7 separate regions of the Homo sapiens genome follow, and all the other regions are linked to region 3. The links are contacts of gene promoters, found by promoter capture Hi-C in blood cells and fetal thymus (Javierre and others, 2016). All regions are on one chromosome and are shown on one strand. The core of a region is centred on a gene start or on the middle of the fragment in contact, and the rest is flanking DNA. Distances in the headings are between cores, read along the strand shown. Region 1 holds the start of MSANTD3-TMEFF1 (MSANTD3-TMEFF1 readthrough). Region 2 overlaps COL15A1 (collagen type XV alpha 1 chain). Region 3 holds the start of NR4A3 (nuclear receptor subfamily 4 group A member 3). Region 4 overlaps TGFBR1 (transforming growth factor beta receptor 1). Region 5 overlaps TGFBR1 (transforming growth factor beta receptor 1). Region 6 has its middle 53 kb from the start of TGFBR1. Region 7 holds the start of TGFBR1 (transforming growth factor beta receptor 1).

Region 1 (2,958 bases), core at 419-2,918, 620 kb after region 3:
GGCCGAGAAACAGCTGTGGAATGATTCTAAGAATACCAGACTCCTAGGGCAGTCCAAGCTCTGGACTTTCTATGTCACCATCTTTGTGATCTTGTGCAATCCACTTCACCTTTCTGACCCTTTCTTCTCTCAGCTGGAAAGAGACTTGAGGAATGTAAAGAGGGACACTGGACTCAGTCTCTTAAGTGCCTAGGCCCTTTCACATCTGAAATTACATACATTGTTTACTTAGGATTTTAAAAAACAGCCCGCATACCTGAAGGATCACAGACTCCAACCCCTCATTTTAAAGATGAAAAAACTGAGGTTGCCATTGCTCCAGGTACATGCCACAGAGTGATGAAAACGTCAAATTTTTTTTTTTTTTTTTTTGAGACAGTGTCTCCTTTGTCATCCAGGCTGGAGTGCGGTGGTGCAAACATGGCTCACTGTAGCCTCGACCTCCTGGGCTCAAGCAGTCCTCCTACCTCAGCCTCCCAAGTAGCTGGGATTACAGGTGCATGCCACCACACCTGGCTATTTTTTTTTCTTCTTTTTCTTCCCTTTTTTTTTTTTTTTTTTTTTTTTTTTAGAGACAGGGTTTTGCCTTGTTGCCCATGCTAGTCTCGAACTCCTGGGCTCAAGCAATTTACCTACCTCAGCCTCCCAAAGTGCTGGGATTACAGGTGTGAGCCACTGTGCCCGGCTGTACATCTTTTTTTTTTTTTTTTTTTTTTGAGATGGAGTCTCACTCTGTCACCCAGGCTGGATTGCAGTGGCACGATCTTGGCTCACTGCAACCTCCACCTCCCGGGTTCAAGTAGTTCTCCTGCCTCAGCCTCCTGACTAGCTGGGATTACAGGCGCACGCCACCACGCCCAGCTAATTTTTGTATTTTTAGTAGAGATGGGGTTTCACCATGCTGGTCAGGCTGGTCTGGAACTCCTGACCTCGTGGTCCGCCTGCCTCAGCCTCCCACATCATATTTTATATTTGAGTACACGGTGGCTTCTTTTGTCCTCAGCTGTGACAAAAGTTTTGGAAAGCTGTTTAGTTCTAAAACTGGCTAACATGATTTGGGGGAATAATCAGTTCCCTAATATTAAAGAAAAATCAATTAACAAATCAGAGTCTAGGCCGGGCGTGGTGGCTCACGCCTGTAATCCCAGCACTTTGGGAGGCCGAGGCAGGCAGATCACTTGAGGTCAGTAGTTCGAGACCAGCCTGCCCAACATGGTGAAACCCTGTCTCTACCAAAACTACAAAAAAAAAATTAGCCGGGCGTGGTGACAGGCACCTGTAATCCCAGCTACTCAGGAGGCTGAGGCAGGAGAATTGCCTGAACCCGGGAGGTGGAGGTTGCAGTGAGCTCAGGTCGTGCCACTGCACTCCAGCCTGGGTGACAAGAGCGAGACTCCGTTTCAAAAAAAAAATGTTCAACTTTTCTTTTTTTGCTGTTATATACCAGATAGTCACAGTATAGCCACAACAATCCACTTTGAAATAAAACCCCATTCCTAGTACATTTCTAAATATTCTCCAGAGTCCTGAATATCATAATTCAACCTTAATGGAAAAGAAAGTACTGTATTTCAGACAAGGGAATCAAGTCAGGAATTAAGCTTCAGTGATTTATAGGCATTGTTTTTGCTGGAGTTGGTAATCATTGCTTCAAACTTCCTTTTACAGGATAGCTAGCGGCCAGGAGAAATACAGTGGAAAATGCAAAACAACGAAATTATAAAGCCTGCCAAATACTTCTCAGAATTGGAAAAGAGCATCCTGCTGGCTTTAGTAGAAAAGTATAAATATGTGCTGGAATGTAAGAAAAGTGATGCGCGAACTATTGCCCTTAAGCAGCGTACCTGGCAGGCGCTGGCCCACGAATACAACTCTCAGCCCAGCGTGTCCCTGCGGGATTTCAAACAGCTGAAGAAGTGCTGGGAGAACATCAAGGCTCGGACCAAAAAAATTATGGCCCATGAAAGGAGAGAGAAAGTGAAACGGAGCGTCAGCCCTCTCCTGAGTACCCACGTCCTAGGGAAGGAGAAGATCGCCAGCATGCTGCCGGAGCAGCTCTACTTCCTGCAGAGCCCCCCGGAGGAGGAGCCCGAATACCACCCCGACGCCTCAGCCCAAGGTATCCGTTCCTGATGCCAGTGTGCACGCTCTCACTGGGTATCTGTTTGACATTTTAATTTTAAAACCCTCCACTTTGAGGGAACTTCTAAAAATGAAACTTTTGTATCAAATCCAATTTTCCTAATTCAAGATCTCAGGATTATATAGGACATTCAAAGTCTTATAGAAGTGGGCGTGGTGGCTCGTGCCTGTAATCCCAGCACTTTGGGATGCTGAGGCGGGAGGATGGCTTGAGCTCAGGAATTTGAGACCACCCTGGGCAACAAAGTGAGACCCCTGTTTCTACAAAAAATAGAAAAAATTAGCTGGGCATGGTAGCATGCACCTGTAGTTCCAGCTACTCGGGAGGCTGAGGCTGGAGGATAACTTGAGCCCAGGAGGTGGAAGCTGCAGTGAGCTGTTATTGCGCCACTGCACTCCAGCCTGGGTGACGGAGTGAGACCCTGTCTCAAAAAAAAAAAAAAAAAAAAAGTAATATATAAAAACAAAAGTACTTGTTTACATCATTGTGCTAGCTCTCTTGGAGACTTTATTATTACTTAAACATAAAGAAAAATAAGGGACTGGATTAATGGAGTTCTTATTAGTGAGGTGCTGCAGTTGCCTATCAGCCTGTCTCAAATATGTTAAAGAGAATTGTATGAAGATTTGTATTCATCCACTCAATTTCACTTTTTTCAAAAAATATTTTTGGAGGTCCTTATTATTTGCAAAGCATTGCAGTAGGCCACTCAAAAGGCCATATTAAAAGAGTCAACCGGCTGGGTTCTGTGGCTCATGCCTGTAATCCCAGCACTTTGGGAGGCTGAGGTGGGCGGATCACCCGAGGTTGGGAGT
Region 2 (3,422 bases), core at 615-3,114, 780 kb before region 3:
GCTGTGTTTGGCAGTGGGCTGAGGGCGTTCTCAGTGTCTGCGGTGTTCCGCTATGCTGGGTGACTTTAATTAAAGCTTTGCTGCCAGGAACAAGGCAGAACACATGCCATCCTTTGTCCTCATTGTCTGATTTTTCTCTTTTCAGTCCTTGATCAATATCACCCATGGATTCATGAATTTCTCGGACATTCCTGAGCTGGTGGGGCCTCCGGTTGGTATCTACAGCTGCCCCAGAATGTGGCTTTTACCCAGACGCCCCTGTTGAAACAAAGTCGGGTTACTTTGGAATCCTTTTAGCTCCTGAAGCGTAGAGCTAGAATATATCAAAGTAGAATGGAAAGAAAGCTTTGCATTTTTTGAAAAGTTGCTTTCACATTAATTTGATCATGTGGAAAGTTGTCTCCAAAGCAGTGGAAGCTTCCAGTCCTGTGCACCGGCAATATGTGTCATGGAAATTAGAGAATGCTAAGTAACAAACAGATGACATCTGTTGCACACTTTTGGCCTGCTTTTATTTACATTATCTTATTTCATAGTATAGGAAGAGCCTGGAGACACCTTTCCTTGTGCTCAAGGGAAACGAGGAAGAAATGGACTCATTCTAGTCTTTATAGCCCCATTTTAGAACTCTGGAAATTATCTGTGTGTTAATTTCCAGATCTCTAAAATGGGATTATAATGTATATAAGAAATACACATTATTTTTGGCCAGAAGTGGTGGCTCACGCCTGTAATCCCAACACTTTGGGAGGCTGAGGCAGGCAGATCATGAGATCAGGAGTTTGAGACCAGCCTGGCCAACATGTTGAAACCCTGTCTCTACTAAAAATACAAAAATTAGCTGGGCATGGTGGCATGTGCCTGTAATCCTAGCTACTTGGGAGGCTGAGGCACGAGAATCACTTGAACCTGGGAGGCGGAGGTTGCAGTGAGCCAAGATCGCACTACTGCACCCCAGGCTGGGTGACAAAGTGAGACTCTATCTCAAAACAAACAAACAAAAAAAACCAAAATATACATTATTTCTGCAAGTTGGCAGAGTTGACTCATGGCACAATGGCCCTAAGATGAAGGAAGCTTCCTCCTACAGCCTGTAGAATAAATACTCATTGCATCTCCCAGCATCTGCTGGTCAGCACAGGAGAAAGGAAGGAGCTCTGGCCTTAGGAGCCTTGAGGTTGCAGCCCCATCTTCTCCACACACCACTCTGAGCCCCTAATTCTCTTCTCTGATGACACCTCACCAGCCTTTGAGGCAACTTGTAAGAAGTGAGGGATGTGAAACTGCTTAGCACACTGTGACGCTCTGTGCAAGTCATTGTGGAGACAGGTTTATGCCTTCACAGCTGTGCAATGCCGATGTCCCTGCCTCTCCTGCAGATCCCCATGAGGTTGCCCTGAATCCCATTCATCCAGATCCAGGGGAAAATCTAGTGCTGCCCCAAGATTCCTGCAAATATCTGCAGACTCTTCTGGCACCAGGTTTCTCCCCTGCTGAGTGACCTCATTGTGAGCCATCTTCCTGTCTCCTCTGTACTGCATCCATTTGATTTCTATGAAAACCAATAATCCAAAATACCTCAATAATGAAACCCTAGAGCAAACCAGCTAACAAGTGAAAGTTTCTTCCCAAGGGGTCTTTGTTTTCCCCAAGCTATTGGAGGTTTCTGATATTAGGTGGGTGGATACTGAAGCAAAACACAGAGAGACTAAAACCAGAGATTGGGCATCCCTGTCCTCACAGTCCCTGGGCCTTGTCTGCCTGCATTACCATGCCTCCACCCCTTCTCTCTCTTCCTTGCTTTCTTTCCAGTCACTGTCCTCCCCTTGGCAAATCCAGACCCTCACAGGGCCCCTTCTTCCCTAATGCTGTGTCAATCCGTCTTCCCAGCTGTGGGAACATGCTGAGGCCTTTGGAAGGGGCTGGGAGGGAGGGGGTCCTGCTGACTCTGGAAATGCCGCTCCTAATCCAGCGTGCTCTATCTTTGGTGTGTCACAGGGGCCGGACGGGTTGCCTGGGCTGCCAGGATTTCCAGTAAGTACCACCCTCGCTGTCTTCTATCTGTGCCCCGTGGCTGCGATCATTCTGTTCCTTCCACCTAGAATGGCATTTCCTCCATCTATGCATGACTGAGCTCCAGGGGCATCTTGTTCATTAACTTTTTCTTGATATTTTTGATAGATATGGGGTTTTGCCATGTTGCCCAGGCTGGTCTGGAACTCCTGAGCTCAAGAAATCCATCTGCGTCAGCCTCCCAAAGTGCTGGGATTACAAGCATGAGCCCCTGAGCCTGGCTGATTTTCTGAACTTTTTACATTTTCTAAAGGCACATATCATATGATAACACTAAAAATAGTGCTAACTAGACGTTAAAAAACAAAAGAGAGAATGGCAACCATGACCACGATTGTGACCATGACTCTGACCATGATTCTTGGTTAGCAGAAGAAAAGGCCAAACCCCTAAGCTCCAGCCCCGGCTTGGCTGCTCCAAGACCTGGGGCACATTTCAGAGCACACTTTCCTCTAAATGAGTGGTCCTGTGTTCCTGAGGGAGTCCCAGGCTCTGCAGGAGAGCCTCCAGGACCTCCACTGCAGGGAGTAAGGAGGGGGCCAAATAGGCACATTCCAGGCCACTGACCTTCAATAAGGGAAGCTTCACTGGACATATTTGTATATATTAGGCTTTCATTTAAGACTTTATTTGGGGGAAAAAAAAGGAAGGAAAAGAGTTTCACTGCTAAACAATAATAACAAATAGTTGAAAGCCACTGCTGTAATGGGTAATTCACTCTTTCATCCAGACAAGACAGGAACTTGTGAAAAGTTAAAATAGCAATAAAGTGTTGAAATGCCTTTTTGAGGCAGATGTGGCTGTGTGAGTCATTGTCACAGGCATTCAGTGTCTGTTGGAGTTGAGAAGAGGTTGCCTCTGGCTGCATGTGTGGATTTGGCTCTGCAGAGGGGTGGGTGGGCATTCCTATGGGGGGGGTGGCATGAGTGCTGGTGCAGAAGCAATGGAGGAGTGCAGAGAGGCTGCGGGAAGGGAGTCAACCTGATGGTGTGGGAGATGAGATGTTGATGCCTGGCTGGGATGGGCTGGGGTGCCAGGCTAAGGTACCTGGGTCCCATCTCATAGGTAGTGGGGAGCCAGAGAAGGGGTGGGAGTCGTGGAAGGGGATAGTGGAGGAGGCGGGCTGCAGGGTGGCCTGGAGGAGCCGTGGGGCAAGCAGATGCAGCAGGCCCAGATAATAGGCTGGATCAGTAGTGCCCAGTTGGAGGAAACCAATGTTCAAAAAAGTGTGAAGCCTCAAGGCCTCTTAACACTCAGTGCTATCTTCTTTCTGCCAGACCACAGTTTCTGGACCACTTAAGGTTAAGAAAATGTCATAGGTAATCATGACTTCCACCTACCTGGGGGAT
Region 3 (2,943 bases), core at 96-2,595:
CAGCGCCCCCCGCCCCCGCCACACACACACAAATTGGGACAGGTCAAACATATAAAACGGTATTTGTGATTCAAGCGGACCACATGGGGACCACTCTATCTGCATTGTTTCACTCAAATATTTTCTCCTGTCCAAAAATTCATTTCTGAAAGAGACTGCGTTCACTCAGCAGCAACCTTTGGGACTAGGGGTCTTTAACTCTGATAAATTTTGTTTTCATCAAGAAATTTACACTTAAATTTATCATTTCCAGGAAGAAATTGCTCTCCTTCATACAGTCACCCAGGCTTTCGGCACACCATTTCATGACAAATGTGTCCGAGGAGACCAAAGCAAATCCCCTAGCGAGGGACTGACTAATAAGTCCTGTTGATTGATTTCGAAATGTTTAATTTGGGAGATGTGGGCGGAGGGCATCTACAACCATCAAAAAGTGAAAGTGCTAGTTGAGAGTTCCATTTCTGACCCGGTGCCGGGGAGGAGGAATGATTTGCAATAGTCAGACCCGCTCAGCTGTTCAACACGTGTGTGTTTGTTTTACACACAGAGTAGTTTCTGCTGCAGCGCGCGTGTGCATGATGGATGTGCACTTCGCTGGGTTATAACGTGTCCAGTTAAGAAACCCACGCCGTACGTGTAAAGAAATCAAACCTTATCCCCGGAACCATCTGCATCCCTGTGTGAAACACGCACCCAGTAAATGATGCGGGGAGGGGGGATTAGCCTGGGCGCAGAGGACCGGAGCAACGTAAACAGCTTTAGAACCTATGCAAGAGGAAAGTGCAGCTGCACCTCAGGGCGTCTTCGGGCTGGTGCCAGACGCCTTCTGCACCGGCTGCCAGGTCACTGGAGCTGGTCAGAAGCTGGCTGGCGGAGCCTTCCCTTTCGGAAGAGCTGTCCTCTCCCTTACCCCCCTCGCCCTGGCTCCGTGCCTCGGGGCAGCCTCGGAGGCGCGCCAGCAGCACTCCTCCAACTCTACTCCACCCGAGCCTGACAGCTGGGCGGTCCCGCCTGACCCGTGGGCAGGCCGCTGCACCCTCCCGCAGACGCACGCCCTGGCGAGCGGTTCCGCTGCAAAAAGAGAAGCCCCCAGGCCGGGGCCGGCCGTGCGGCGGAGTTTCCATTGTGCGGCCGTGCGACTGGCCGAGGAACGCGCGCGCGCGCGCGCGCACACGAACACACACACCCTCCCTCGCACACGCGGAACCGGCTGGGCCAGGGGAGGGAGGAGGAGGGTGACGTAGCGTCCCATGGCGTCACATTGACGTCTCGCATTCCAGGCACTCTATGGAGAGGCCGCTAGGGCTCCTGTGGCATAAATGACGTGCCGAGAGAGCGAGCGAACGCGCAGCCGGGAGAGCGGAGTCTCCTGCCTCCCGCCCCCCACCCCTCCAGCTCCTGCTCCTCCTCCGCTCCCCATACACAGACGCGCTCACACCCGCTCCCTCACTCGCACACACAGACACAAGCGCGCACACAGGCTCCGCACACACACTTCGCTCTCCCGCGCGCTCACACCCCTCTTGCCCTGAGCCCTTGCCGGTGCAGCGCGGCGCCGCAGCTGGACGCCCCTCCCGGGCTCACTTTGCAACGCTGACGGTGCCGGCAGTGGCCGTGGAGGTGGGAACAGCGGCGGCATCCTCCCCCCTGGTCACAGCCCAAGCCAGGACGCCCGCGGAACCTCTCGGCTGTGCTCTCCCATGAGTCGGGATCGCAGCATCCCCCACCAGCCGCTCACCGCCTCCGGGAGCCGCTGGGCTTGTACACCGCAGCCCTTCCGGGACAGCAGCTGTGACTCCCCCCCAGTGCAGATTTCGGGACAGCTCTCTAGAAACTCGCTCTAAAGACGGAACCGCCACAGCACTCAAGTACGTATGAGATTCGCCCAGTTAATAAGGGGACTTGCTAAAAAAGTTGGCTTGCTGGGAAGCGTCGCTCCTGAAATTGACAACTTTGAGTGTGGGGTTCCCTCCCCTGACCTTGCCGCCCGGCTCCGGCTTTGCTAGCCCAGCGGCCCGTAGGTTCTGATCTGAAACTTTTCCCCTGTAGTGGGCCCGCGGGGATCTCTGGAGCTCGTGGGATTCCTCCCCCCACTCGAAGAGGCGAAAAGCCTCTAACAAAGAGGAGGACCGGGATTTGTGCTATAGCGGCTCCAGCGATGTAATTCAGGGTATTTCGGCTCTAGTTGTCATGGTAATGATGCTCTCGGCGGCGGCGGCGGCGGCGGCAGCGGCAGCGGCAGGGAGTTGCAGCTCCGGTGATGAACGGCAGTAATTTTCCTGCCTTTTAAGTAGGATTGAAAATAGGAGCTCTGGTGGGTCCAAGTAAATGTTGCTAATGGTGGCACCGAGCTGGTTCTCTGGAAGGAAGCTTAGGAGGGAAGGGCCTAGGCAGCGACGGCCAGAGTTTGCAGACGCACTCGGAGGACCTCAGGAAAGAGGGCGTAATTGTAGGAATGTGGCTTATTGTATTGAAATGAGCCTGGGGTTCCACTAGGCACGTCTGCCTGTCGTCGCTGACATGCCGGTTTACACTTTTCCCTTAGGAGGTAAATCGGGTGTAATTGGCGACTCCCGCACACTGACACGTGTGGGGACGGTGTCCCTCTCCTCTGGACGTTGGCTCGGTGTGGGAAAGGCATGCTTTTTCACGGACAGAACTCGCGCTTTTGGAGAAGTTGCTCCGAGTGTTTTACTCTTAGTAGAAATGAAAGTTCTCGGTGGTGAGACGAGAGCGGTCATGCGAGCGCAGCCTGCGGAGACTGACTTCCAAAGGCACCTCTCCAACCTGTTGGAAGCCTCGGGGCAGTGGTGAGGAAGAACGCATTTGTCCCTTGATTTCCAAAAACGTTCTTGGAGATTGCCTTTTATTTATTTATGCGTCCGGATTCTCCAGAGGGAAGAGCTGCGAGGAGTTAGTAATCAGAAATGTCGGGCTGTGATC
Region 4 (3,171 bases), core at 470-2,969, 700 kb before region 3:
TTGTATATGCATATGGTTTATATTGTGTTCTGTGTCAGTATTGCCTACCAGAGCTGTCTCAACATTAGCTCTGATTCTCTGTCTAGCATCTAGACCAGAGACTGGCACGTAATAGGAGCTCCAAAGAAATACTTGTTGAAAAAGTGCATAAACTAATTTTTGAACATTTTATTATGTGCTGGGCACTGTGCTAAGTATTCTATGTATGTTATTTCATTAACCCTCAAACCTTCTGAGATTGGTACTGTTTGTTAGTATGTTATAAATTTAGGAAGTAAGTTGAAGAAATTTAGGTTCAAATAAGTTAAGTGACTTCCTCAGGATTACTCAGTGCCTGACTGGCAAAGATAGGATTTTAACTTAAGTTTTTCTGTCTCTGAGTTCCATCAACTTAACTACCATATCCTTATAATACCTACCCACTAGTCAAATTAAAATCTAATAAGAAACTGTGTAAAAGCATACTTAGATTGAGAGGAAATAAGAAATTTGGTTATTGTTTTAGCACTCACCTTTAGACATAGAAGTTTCTCCATTTCTTTTCAGGGCCTGGGGTAAGGCAAAGTGTGCACATCTGCTCTGTATATTAAAATATCCCCTCAACTCATTGAAGTGGAACAAAAACAAGGTCACTTGACAGGACTGTAATTGTAATCACACTATACAGCTTTACTTCCTGCCCTTTAGTAGTAGGACCATTCCCTTGTCCTTAAACATGCTTCTAAAATACCAGTTTTAATGGCTATATAGTCTTTCATTTATGATTGTATAAGGATTCATTCTGTCATTGTATTGTCATTCACATAGGTTGTTTTCAATCATAAAATACTGTAATGAACATCTGCAAGTTTAGATTTTTGCTCTCACCTATTGTTTCCTCAGACAACTGTAAGTAGTAGAATTGATGGATTAAAAGATACTTTTTAAAGGCTCTGACTCTTCTAAAATGTGTTGTTAAACTCCTCAGATCTGCTAACCAGATCTTTATGCTGTACTTGTGTGATTTATTTCGAATCTAAGTGAAAGCCTTTGTATTAGTTACCCTGTTAAATCCCATCTTGCCATTTGGGCAGCCTATTCTTAGTGTGTTTTCTCTGATATCAGTTAACATTATATTGGCTAATTCCATAGAAACTAGGAGACTGGAAAATGAAGATAATGTGGAAAAACAAGAGCTTGTGAATTTGGGAGTGCCCTGTTCTTTTAAGATGTGATGTGGGTTAAATGATAAACAATGCATCTTAAATTCTTTAAAAGTGGCAGAAGTAAATGGAATTTATCTGGAAAAAAATCAGGCGTTTATTCTGATGCCCTAAATTCAGGGGTGAAATATTATCTGGACTAGAGGAAAATTTTATGTACATTATATGGTGTTCTCTATTTTGACAAGCTTACTTTGATATTACTGCTGCAAGGTAGCCCCAGGAGGGTTGAATTGAGAAGAACTGAGTATTTTGAGGAACAAAACCTAGGATAGTAGGCTGGAGGGAATTGGAGGTCAGGGTTTTAGCCATGTATACAGAGATAAGCAACATATTTAATAAAAAGAAAAGGAGAATCTATATAGTATGCTTTACTCCAAAGCTGGATGAGGGAGAAAAGAGGACACGTCTCCTTGAGAAGGGGGCATGTGTTGAGAATGGAGAAAAGGGGTAAGGCAGATTACTCAGAAGAACTGGGGTAGAAGAATAGGTTGGATGATAAAAGGGGCTGACATTAGTCCCTGAAAGTTTTTTTTAAATAACTTCCAACTTTTGCCTTCACCTTTGCCAGCAGTGATGTGATCTGCTTTCAGCTGTAGTGAAGCAAACTGCATAAAGGACATTGTGCATGTTAGGTCTTTTACTTGCCTGTTGGTACATGTTTGTAATATTTGGAAATACTCTCACTGCGAAGAAAAGTATAGTTGTGCTGTAGTGGGTAGGGTGAGGAAAATAAGGGTCATCACCAGCAAAGTCAGAGTGATGAAAAAACTGGATTACAACACTCTGCTTGACTTTGCATAGATAAGTAAGCCAAGCAGAGTGTTTCCTGGATGTAGTTAAAATACAAGCTTGGAGCACAGGTAAAAGGCCAAGAGGCTTGGAGATGTACATCTGAGATGTACCAAAGGGCCAAGTGCAAAGTAAGTTTGGGAAGTTTAGTGTCATATAAAAACTAATAAAGAAAGGGTGGTACTCTGTCTCATATCCTGAAACGTTTTGAAAAGAATATTGAATTTGACCAGAAGGGCATTGCTAGTGAATTTCAAAGAGAGATTTCAGTTGAGCTCTGAACTGGAGGAAGATGGGTGATAGAAGGCTGGAGAGGGCCAGTAACAAGGGTTGAAAAAGGAAAGAGTATTCAAGCGTATGCATAAAAAGACTACGGGTAGGTTGTGTAGATGATGACACACTAAGCCTGGGAAGACAAGGTTTCGGTGCTAATTTTTATTTCTTTAACAAGGGTGATAGAAATATCTGTTCCATATATTAATACTATACACAACTGTTTACCTCTCAGCTTTTCTAGCAAGACATATGGGCTTGTGAATTAACCCTGGGTAGCCCTGGCATTAGATAGAATTAATAGTGCTTCCATATGTGACCTCGAGACGTACTGAAATGAGGCAACCAAGGAAATCCTTTATATTGGGACCAAGAGCCAAGATCTCAACTTGGGATATGTTACCCCGAGAGTTGTTACCCCGATACTATAATACCATGAATAATAACCCCAAGGGTCCTGTTGTCTCTTTTTCCTCATGTCACTTCCTTTGGTACTAACTGTCACCATGCTAACATCTGCAAACTTTGAAAATTCTGATTTATTCTGCAATATTTGGAAATTTCACTGCTAGTAATTGTATTTCCTGGCATGGTTCTGATATAATTTTCTGTGTACACAGTAGCTTTTCCTTTTAGTGCTGAATCACACTGAAATCCTTGTTTAACCTAAGTTATAGTTGCAAGGGAGCTATCAAGACAAATAATTACAGTGATGGTGAAGTGAATACAAGTCAAACATCCCAATCTGAAATTCAAAACCTTTTGAGCACACCAACATGATGCCACAAGTGGAAAATTCTGCACATAAGTACTTAACATGACCTTTGTTTCATGCTCAAAATTATTTCAAATATTATATTAAATTACCTTCAGACTATATATATAAAGCATATATGAAACATGA
Region 5 (3,336 bases), core at 837-3,336, 680 kb before region 3:
TTGGTAATTATGGGTGATTTTTATTATTTTTCTTTTAGCTTCTCTGGGTTTTCAAATTTATTTACAAGCATGTACTGCTTTTTTTTGTTATTGACTTTTATTTGTAGAAAATTTCCAATATGTAGAAAAGCAGAGTAGTTACAGTGATCCCTCATCGTCCAGCTTCAACAGTTGTCAGGTCACTGCCAATCATAATTGATGTCTGATCCCACCTACTCTGCCCTAACTGTGTTATTTGAAGCTGGTCCCAGACAATATGTTTTCATCTGTAAACACTTATAAAATGTAATTTGTATCTTCAAATGATGAGGAAATGTTTTTATGAAACAACCACACTACCATTGTCAGTTTTTTAAATGTTATCAAATATCCAGTTAGGTTCAATTCTATAATTGTCTCCTATTAAAAAAATTATTTATTCAAATTATGATTCTAAGTCCACAAGTTATATTTAGTTGATATTTCTCTTATGTGTCTTAAAATTTAGGTCCCCCCTTCATCTTTTTTCTCCTCTCGCAGCTTATTTGTTGAAGAAATTGGATTGTTTATCCTGAAGGGCCTATCACATTCTGGATTTTGCTGATTGCATTTCCATAGTGTCTCTTAACTTGTTCTTCTATCTTTTCTGAAAACTGGTAGTTAGATTTAGAAGCTAAACCTAATTGGAGTTTTATTGGTTTTCTCAAAATACATACTAAGGATATTATATACATCCTATTGCATCATATGTGGAGGTGTATAGTGTTTGATTAAGACGGGGCAGTGAGGTATATGATGAATGTAGGTAGCGATTATCAGTGGCACCTGACAATGTAATACCTCTTAAGTTAAAAACAAAACAGGCCGGGCACAGTGGCTCACGCCTGTAATCCCAGCACTTTGGGAAGCCAAGGTGGGTGGATCACGAGGTCAAGAGTTCAAGACCAGCCTGGCTGGCCAAGATGATGAAACCCCATCTCTACTAAAAATACAAAAAAATTAGCCAGGCATGATGGCAGGTGCCTATAATCCCAGCTACTTGGGAAGCTAAGGCAGAGAATTGCTTGAACCTGGGAGGTGGAGGTTGCAGTCAGAGCTGAGATCGCACCACTGCACTCCAGCCTGGGCGACACAGGGAGACTCTGTCTCAAAAAAAAAACAACAACAAAACAAAACAAAACAAAAAATAGTAATCAGTCTGACCAAATCCTTAGTTCTCATTTTCGTTTCTGCCTTTATCACCATTTATTTCCTCCCCCAACTCTTAAAACAACCTTTTCTTTATTTACTGTGTTTGATGACCCTAGACTTTCCTTGTTCCTTCTTACTTCTTCATAGTTGTCTTTGTTTTCTCAACTCTTACTCTTCTCACTGGTTCATATGAAGGTACTGATTTTATAAGTGGTAATTTCTTCCTTAAGAACATAGCCACATTCATGGTTTCAAACTCTACCATGTTGGCAACTCTCAAATCTCCATTTGAAAGCTTAAACCTCACCCAGGGTCTGGATTTTGTCACATTCCAAGTTACAAACACAGCAGCACAAAATGTTGGTGAGTCTGTGCCCTGAACTTCTAACCAGGCTGATGCTGTCATCTGGTGGTCACCATGGGAACTAGCTGACCCTACTGGCTCTTCCCTACTCCCCTTCTTTCTTCTTTGTCAGGGGTTAATGTACTTTCTCTGAGCCTAGCCCCTCCACCTCAGTTCCTTTATCTTCTCCTGATTTAGTTAATTCCACCCCCGGCAGCCCTTTATATTTATGGCCCCTTACATATAACCTTCCTTCTATCTTGTCCATAACCTGTGGTTTCCCTTTCTTCCATCTGCCTGTCTTCCACTTTGTTTCTTGTATTTGTGAGCTTTTCAAAATTCAGTAATGGTTAAGAGGCATGCAAATAAGCTAGTGATGTGCCTATATCAAGGAAAAGCAAGGGTGCGAGTTTGGTCAGAATCAGTTTATAAAGTTCATGAAGAACAAATTAATACTAAGTCCTTTTAAATGTACCCAGAAATCTCCTCCAGAATCTTCTGAAAAGTTTCTATTCCTTTCTTAATCTCTTCTAATCAGAGTTGGTTTTCTTCTTCAACCAAATACCTTCAAAATAGAAGCTGTTTCATGTCAATATGGATTTTTTCTTTTGGTTTACAACCAGCAGGGAAAGAAAGAGCACAGTTTATGTACTTCTTACCTAAAGAATCTAGCATTCCGTTTTTTAAATCTTAACAGTCTTACAAAGTAAGACTTTATTCTTGTATAAAAGGAGAAACAGGCTCCTTGTCAGTAACAGGCAGGCCGTGGATTCCAACCAGGTTAGAATGACTCTAAGCGTCCATCTTTTACTGGATTGTGCTGTCTCCTAATGTTGTAATGCTTTTTTTCTTCATGGCTTAATTAAGCATGTGGTTTTCCAGCTACTTCTAGGTTAAATTAGATTGTCGTGGACCAGTCTAGCTTAGGAGCCTAGCTAGTGTCTTTACCATTATTCCTATGAGAAAACATGTTTTAAACTCGTGTTTTGGCTTACAGAGGAAATTTTGGAACCCACGTTCCTCGTTGTTTGAGTTTAGTCCCAGCTTTTCCAGTTTTGCTCCTGACATTTCAGTTCCTATTTCAGCTTCCCCATGTGTTAGAGGTATCACTATTTCTGTTTTTCTAAGCTAGCAACCTTGGAATCATAATCATCTTGTCTTGCGTCTTTGTGAACTGTGTACACAATCTGTCACTAAAGCTTGTCATTTCTTGTTGAAACTCACTTTCAGTTTTGTCCCATACTCTTCCATTCCCACTGTGGCCACACTGGTCTCCGGAGACTTCTCACCTCCTTGCTTCCCTCTCTGTTCCTTCCTTTTTTTTAACCTTCTCTCCTTCCAGGAACAGCCACTGAGCACCCAACCCGACCCAGAGATTTTTCTAGGCACTTAAGAGTGCCAGCTCTGATACCAATTATCTGTGAAGACTCAAAAAAGTCACCATCTTTGTCTCTTAAATGGGATTAATTATACTTGCCTTATCTCAAGAAGAGGGGCTTACTCTGAGGAACTAAAGGATGTGTACATAAAAGTATAAAACAAACAATGTAGAAGAAAATGTGAAGGAAATACAGACTTAAGGTGGCATTATATTGCAGTGTGTGACTCAGGATTGAGAGTAAAAAGTAATAACCATTGAACAAATAAATCATAAATGGTCTGCAGCCCAACCGAAATGTTAATTCTGTTTTACAGACAATGGTACTTGGACTCAGCTCTGGTTGGTGTCAGATTATCATGAGCATGGATCCCTTTTTGATTACTTAAACAGATACACAGTTACTGTGGAAGGAATGATAAAACTTGCTCTGTCCACGGCGAGC
Region 6 (3,024 bases), core at 151-2,650, 660 kb before region 3:
ATATTTGACAGAATTCAGCACCCATTCGTGATGAAAACTCAGCAAACTAGAAATAGAAGGCAACTTCCTCAACCTAGTGAAGGGCATCGATAAAAAACTCACAGCCAACATACTTGATGGTGAAAGAATACTTTTCTCCTTAAATCAGAAACAAGTCGAGAACATCCTTTCATCATTTCTATTCAATGTTGTCATGGAGGTTCTGTCCAGTCCCTGTTCCCTCTCCCTACAAAAAGACTAGAAAGACATTAGGTTGGGGAAAAAAGTAAAACTGTCTTTATTAAGAAATATTACCTGTCAGATTCTAAAGAATCCACCGGAAAAAATTTTTTTTTTGAAGCTACAAGACCTAATTCAGCAAGCAAGGTTGTAGGATACACAATCAATATTAAAAATTGACATTATATTAGCAATGAACGATACCTTCAAAAGTAAACTCAGAATAGCGTCAAAAAGAATATAATAATACATTTATTTAATTGAAAAAATATTGCCGAGAGAAATCAAAGGATCTAAATGAGAACTTCCATGCTCATGGATTAGAGAATTCAACAGTGTTATGATGGCAATTCTCCCCAAATTGTTCTATAGATTCAACTCAATCCCTAGCGATATTCCAGAAAGGTTTTTCTTTAAATTCACAAGCTGATCCTAAAACTTAACATGGAAATGCAAAATGTCTAAAAGATCCTAAATGATTTTGAAATGCACAAAATTGGAGGAATTGCCTTACCCAGTTTCAAAACTTACTGTAAAGCAACAATAATCAAGACTGTTTATTGACACAAGGATAGTCAGTCATATACAGCAACAGGACAGAATTAAGAGTCCAGAAATAAGCCCTCACAGACGACCAACGGACTTTCAAGATATGTGCAAAGATAATTCAACAGGAGAAAAGACAGTCATTTCAATAAATGGTGCTGAGACAATTGGATATCTGTATTTTAAAAGGAAGGAAAAAAGGAAGAAAGTTAATTAGACCCTCAGCTCATTATGCACCTAAAGGTAAGAGCTAAAGCTATACAACTTCTAGAAGAAAACAGGAGAAAATCTTTGTGATGTTAGGTTAGGCAAAGATTTTAATAGGACTTCAAAAGCAAAATTTATTAAAAACCAGTTGATAAATTGGACTTCACCACAATTAAAATATTTGGGGCTTTAAAAAACAAGAGAATGAAAAGATGAGCCAAAGACTGGCATAAAGTATTTGCAAATCATACATCTGATAAGAGATTTGTATTCAGAATATATAAAGAACTCTTACAATTCAATAAGAATACAAATGGCCCAATTAAAAATTGGTGAACAAATTCATTGCTCAGAGATTGGGTATGGTAGAGTTAATTCTAAATTCTGTATTTGGGTATTAATGTTTAAATGGTAATTCGGCAACAGTTGATAAAGTGAAGCTCTAAATACCATGAATTATGTGTAGGACTGTGACAAAAAAAGTAAAAATAAAAACTGGTCAAAAGATTTGACATTTTCCCAAGAAGATATATGAATGGCTAATAAACATAATTCTTTATAAAGACTAGATGAAATTAAAACCACAATGAGAAACCACTCCTCACACACTCAAATGATTATAGTTTTTAAAAAGACAGATAGCCAAGTGTCAATAAAGATGAGAAAAAGATGAATCTCACACATTGCTGGAATGTAAACAGTCCCTTTGGAAAACAGATTGCAGTATCTTAAGAGGTTAAATAGAAACCTATTATGTAACCCAGTAATATCATTTCTAGGTATCAGTAGAGGTGCCAGATAAAATACAGGAGGCTCAGTTAAATTTGTGTGTCAGATAAAAACAATTTTTTAGTATAAGTTTGTCCCACATATTGCATGGAACATGTTTATACTAAAAAAAAGTATTGTTTATCTGACATTTAAATTTAACTCGGCTTCCTGTATTTTAACTTGCTAAATCTGGCAACTCTAATCCAAGAAAAATTAAAACATATGTCCACACAAAGACCTGTAGGTGAATATTCACAGCAGCATAATTCCTAATAGTCAAAAATGGAAACAAGCTAAATGTCCATCATCTGGTGAATTGATATTTAAGAGGTAAGGTATTTATACCATGGTTTATAAGACTGCTTGATCCTTGTTATAATGTGGATGACCTCAAAACCCTCATGCTAAGTGAAGGAAGTGGGATGAAAAGGTTGCAGAAAGGCACAAGGGAGCTTTTTCGGATGATGGGAATTGAGGCAGGAGAATAGGGTCTGGAGGCAGGGAACCTAAGGCTCTTTCACCCTGACTTCCTAGAACTAAATTGAAAGGAAAACCCTAACTTTCCACGCCTAAGTAAAAAAAGGACCAGAGGCTGCAGATGGGAAATCTGTCTGCAACAAATCAGACTGAGTACCAGTGGAGTCTTCGTTTGCAACTTTGTGACTTAGCTCCAGCCTCTGAATGGTTGCCGTCCACAATCAACCAGACTGATTGCAGGCTTAGTCAGTCTTCATTTGCACAGAAGTATAACTTTGTAACTTCACCGTAGCCTCTGATTGGTTGCCTTTACCAATCAGATGTTTGCACAGGAGTGTGACCTTTGTAACTTCAGCCTCTGGTTGGCTGCTTTCTGCAACCAATCAGACTGATTGAGGGCTACCACTTCATTTACATGAAGTATGCATGAAGTGGCCAATGGGAAACTTCTGGGGGGTATTTGGACCAAAGAAGATTCTGTATTGGGGGCTCTTGAGTAGCTGCTCAGGCTGCTCCCACACTGTGGAGTGTACTTTTGTTTTCAATACATCCCTGCTTTCCTTCTTTTGTTGCTTCATTCTTTCTTTGCTTTGCTGGGCGTTTTGTTCAACTCTGTTCAAAACGCCAGGAATCTGGACAACTTGCAGTTACGACCTTCTACTGGTGACAGAATGTTTCAAAGCTTGATTTTGGTGATGGATTCAGAACTCCGTAAATTTACTAAACATTGTGCACATGAAATGGGGAAATTTTATGGTGTGTAAACTATATCTCAATACGTCTGTTAAAGGAAAAAAAAGTAAA
Region 7 (3,214 bases), core at 558-3,057, 720 kb before region 3:
ACATTACGTCATTTAAGGGGCCCAAGACAAGTGATTCAATCCCTTTTATTTATAAACGGGGTAGGTACTATTATTATTTACATTTTAGAGATGAAGAAGCTAATGGCCAGAGAAAAACAGTCACTTTCTGAGATCATTCATTCATTCATACAATAAAAATCTCATTAGCTCTTATCTTATGAAAGACATTGCAAATAGAGCAGCAAAAAGGCAGTCTAGGGACCTCAGGTGGCACAAAGTCCACCAAATCTCCATTGAAGAAACTGGAACTGAGAGGGCAAATTGGGACTGGAGCCTGCCAGAAGCCATCTCTCTGGAATCCCTCAGCCTGAGCAAGAGGGGAGTTTGCTGCTGAGGCTGCTGGAGCTGCGGTGTAGAGCAAGTTGCAGGCCTCTGAGCCTGTTGGAGGTTCAGAAAGGTTAGCTGACTTGCTTAAGTAAGTGTCCTAGACAGGAGGGAGAAAGCGCGCGGGTCTCAGATCCCAGCTCCAATATCCACGCCTTTTCCCTTTTCATCTCCCGGAAGGAAGCCTTCACAGGTGGGGAAAATGCTCACCCAGTGACTCTAAAGTAGTGCACAAATTGGCATTAATCAGAACCATTCTGATTCCTGCTATCAAGGTTTATTTAATTCTAAGCTCAAATGACACAGAAAATAAAATTTCCTCCTTAAAAGGTTCTGCGGAAAAATATTCTCTGTTCTACGTAACAGCCTCCTTGGCTGTGTTTGTGTCTGAAGAAAGGACTAGTCTGACAGGAAGAATTACAAATCTGGAGCTCATTTTGGCGTCGCAGAGGGAAGGTGGGTGGAGCGTCTCGCAGTAAATTAGGAATTCAGAATGAAAACGTAGAGTTTATTTGGGTTTTTAGTGACACCTCAGGATTATTATACAGCAGTGTCAGACACAGCTCAAAGTAATGATGACTGCTCCCCCTCCGCCCCGCGGGAGCTGGGTGCTAAGAAGGGGGAACCCCTCCTTTGAGGGGTTGGGGTGGGGATCCTCCCTTTCCAACCTGGATCGGGAAGGGGTTTGAGAGGAGTGCGGCTTGGATCCCCATCCTGGATCTGTGCTGGAGGGAGGCGGGAGGCTATTTGGGGGTGTGTTTGGGCTCAGGATCTGGGTCTGACGCTGGGATCTGAGGACTTTCTGGGTTTGGAACTGGGTGGGGGAGCTGGGTTTGGGGTGACCGCTGGGAGCAGGAGGAAATAGGAGAGTGAGTCGCATGTGAAGGGCACTGAGGAGGGATCTTCGGGGGAATGCTGAAGTTGATGCGTGGACTTGGAGAGGGGAAGTTGAAGTGGATGCAGGGGCCTGGCGCTGCAGCGGATCTGGGTGGCATGTGCTGGGATTGCCAATGCGGAGCTGTGAATGGGGTCAGGGTGGGGCTGAGGCAGTACCAGATCTTCCGCGCCTAGAGGAGGTTAGAAGAAAAGAGCGTCGAACGGCCACAGCCTTTTTCCGAAAGAGACTCACACAGACACACCCATCGCTCTACCCGGCCCTCCGGGGCTAGCGGCTGAGCGGTGCTGGGGCTGGCAGACCCCGCCCCCACGCGGCCTCTCGGAGCCGGGAGCCGATCGGGCCGGGGCTGGGGTCTGGCGGCCCAGCCCCCGGGGAGCGTGGGGCGTGGCCAGAAACCGGCGCTCGCGGCTGCGGATTGGCTGCCTGGCGGGCCCGCAGGCGGGGCTCCCGGCTGGGTCCCGCTTGGCAGCTCGCGGCGGCGGGGAGGCGGGGCCGGCGGGAGCCCGGCAGCCAATGGACGCGCGTCCTCCGAGCAGTTACAAAGGGCCGGAGCGAGGCCGCCGCGGCGGCTAGGGAGGTGGGGCGAGGCGAGGTTTGCTGGGGTGAGGCAGCGGCGCGGCCGGGCCGGGCCGGGCCACAGGCGGTGGCGGCGGGACCATGGAGGCGGCGGTCGCTGCTCCGCGTCCCCGGCTGCTCCTCCTCGTGCTGGCGGCGGCGGCGGCGGCGGCGGCGGCGCTGCTCCCGGGGGCGACGGGTGAGCGGCGGCGCGGCGGGCGGGCGACTGCGGGGCGCGCGGGCCGGACCCGGCCTCTGGCTCGCTCCTGCTCTTTCTCAAACATGGCGCGGGGCCGGGGGCGCAGGTGGCGGCGCCGGGGCCCGGGCCGGGCTCTCGTGGCGCCGCGCGGCTCGGCGGCTGCCGGGCGAACCGCAAGCGGGGAGCGGAGGCGGGGCAGGGGCGTGTGTCCGGGCGCGGGCGGACGTGTCCGGCTGCCCGAGGCCGCCCCGCTCGGGACTCCCCGGGGAGGTGGAGTCGGGCGGAGTCGTCCGAGGTCCGGGGCTGCCCTCTGGGGTGTGAGTGGGCGAGGGCCAGGGGCGGAGAGTGCGAGGCCGGCGGGGACTGGCAGAGCCGTGGCTGCCCGCCGCCGCCCCCTGGGCACGGCGTGACCTTGTTCTGGGGACCCCCGCCCCAAGAGGGTCCGTGCCAGAGGCTGCCGAACCCGGGGCGGGGTTTGAGGTTGGGGTGGAAGGCGGCTCCCGGGCGGGGTGTGAGCTCCGAGCCTCTAGGGCTTCGTCCAGTGGGAGTCGGGGGCGACGTGTGGTGAGACCCCTGGGTCCGCAGGCCGCCCTGACTCCCGCCCGGCTCGACCCGAGCCGACCCTGCTGGAAGGGGCTGCTCCTCCAGCCAGGGGGGCTTTGTGTGAGAAGAAGGAAGCGCGGAGATGCGCGGAATGTTTCTTCTTTCGTGCGTCTGGGGAGTGTTGAAGTGAGTCCAGTAACCAGACGGCTACGGATTGTTTTCATAGTGGAAACTTGAACGTTTGCTCATTCTGCGGGTTTTGGAAATTTTGGGAACGACTGTGAATTGATTAAACGCTTTTTATTTCCTCGAAGGAACATCACTCACGTTGTTCCTTTTCTTGAGTGACAGTTAATAGTTTGATTCAGACATCTGTATAGCTGGTTTTCAAGGAAGACTGTTGGCTGGATTTTTCAAAATAGTAAATCAGGTTGGGGTAGGTGGTTGGTATCCACAAAGGGATGAGTGAAAAACTTCGTTAGCAGCTGAACTGAGACACTAGAAGCTAAAATACACAGCCTCAGTGTTAGCAACTAAAATGCAGTGAAAGTACATTTCTGTTTCTGAAACTGGACAAAAGATGTTGAAATTTTTTTAAAAAATCAAGACTGACGGTGACGATTATAATCAGTCCTAATAGCTACCGTCTATGTATTGTGCATTACTACGATGTA

What was found. Contacts are between HindIII fragments. The CHiCAGO score rates a contact against its expected background, and 5 or more counts as called.
Region 1: the fragment with the promoter of MSANTD3-TMEFF1 here is called in contact with the fragment with the promoter of NR4A3 in region 3 in 1 of 17 cell types (non-activated CD4 T cells); the score reaches 6.0 in non-activated CD4 T cells.
Region 2: a contact is called between a fragment that was not itself captured here and the fragment with the promoter of NR4A3 in region 3, in 1 of 17 cell types (monocytes). The highest score is 5.9, in monocytes.
Region 4: a fragment that was not itself captured here is called in contact with the fragment with the promoter of NR4A3 in region 3 in 1 of 17 cell types (total CD4 T cells); the score reaches 5.4 in total CD4 T cells.
Region 5: a contact is called between a fragment that was not itself captured here and the fragment with the promoter of NR4A3 in region 3, in 1 of 17 cell types (fetal thymus). The highest score is 6.0, in fetal thymus.
Region 6: a contact is called between a fragment that was not itself captured here and the fragment with the promoter of NR4A3 in region 3, in 1 of 17 cell types (naive B cells). The highest score is 7.6, in naive B cells.
Region 7: a contact is called between the fragment with the promoter of TGFBR1 here and the fragment with the promoter of NR4A3 in region 3, in 3 of 17 cell types (fetal thymus, non-activated CD4 T cells and monocytes). The highest score is 7.9, in fetal thymus.

Annotation. Positions count from the first base shown.
Region 1 is chr9:100,440,238-100,443,195 of GRCh38, forward strand. MSANTD3-TMEFF1 (MSANTD3-TMEFF1 readthrough) reads left to right here and starts at 1,669. Exons shown (of 10, transcript NM_001198812.1): 1 at 1,669-2,119. The coding sequence starts at 1,702. It overlaps MSANTD3 (Myb/SANT DNA binding domain containing 3), which reads left to right. Exons shown (of 3, transcript NM_080655.3): 2 at 1,669-2,119. The coding sequence starts at 1,702. The HindIII fragment of the contact is 4,285 bases long and covers 1,600-2,958 here.
Region 2 is chr9:99,038,523-99,041,944 of GRCh38, forward strand. It overlaps COL15A1 (collagen type XV alpha 1 chain), which reads left to right. Exons shown (of 42, transcript NM_001855.5): 22 at 146-211; 23 at 1,999-2,034. Among named protein-coding and RNA genes, the nearest start is that of TGFBR1, 65 kb to the right of the region's middle. The HindIII fragment of the contact is 1,578 bases long and covers 1,076-2,653 here.
Region 3 is chr9:99,820,540-99,823,482 of GRCh38, forward strand. NR4A3 (nuclear receptor subfamily 4 group A member 3) reads left to right here and starts at 1,346. Exons shown (of 8, transcript NM_006981.4): 1 at 1,346-1,868. RefSeq lists a silencer at 1,440-1,489 and an enhancer at 2,064-2,576. The HindIII fragment of the contact is 5,731 bases long and covers 1-2,368 here.
Region 4 is chr9:99,119,858-99,123,028 of GRCh38, forward strand. All of the region lies in intron 1 of TGFBR1 (transforming growth factor beta receptor 1), which reads left to right. Among named protein-coding and RNA genes, the nearest start is that of TGFBR1, 16 kb to the left of the region's middle. The HindIII fragment of the contact is 663 bases long and covers 1,389-2,051 here.
Region 5 is chr9:99,139,328-99,142,663 of GRCh38, forward strand. It overlaps TGFBR1 (transforming growth factor beta receptor 1), which reads left to right. Exons shown (of 9, transcript NM_004612.4): 5 at 3,209-3,336. Among named protein-coding and RNA genes, the nearest start is that of TGFBR1, 36 kb to the left of the region's middle. The HindIII fragment of the contact is 1,247 bases long and covers 1,464-2,710 here.
Region 6 is chr9:99,156,336-99,159,359 of GRCh38, forward strand. No RefSeq gene overlaps it. Among named protein-coding and RNA genes, the nearest start is that of TGFBR1, 53 kb to the left of the region's middle. The HindIII fragment of the contact is 3,000 bases long and covers 1-2,900 here.
Region 7 is chr9:99,103,306-99,106,519 of GRCh38, forward strand. TGFBR1 (transforming growth factor beta receptor 1) reads left to right here and starts at 1,808. Exons shown (of 9, transcript NM_004612.4): 1 at 1,808-1,997. The coding sequence starts at 1,901. RefSeq lists silencers at 1,336-1,935, 2,026-2,535. The HindIII fragment of the contact is 12,693 bases long and covers 1-3,214 here.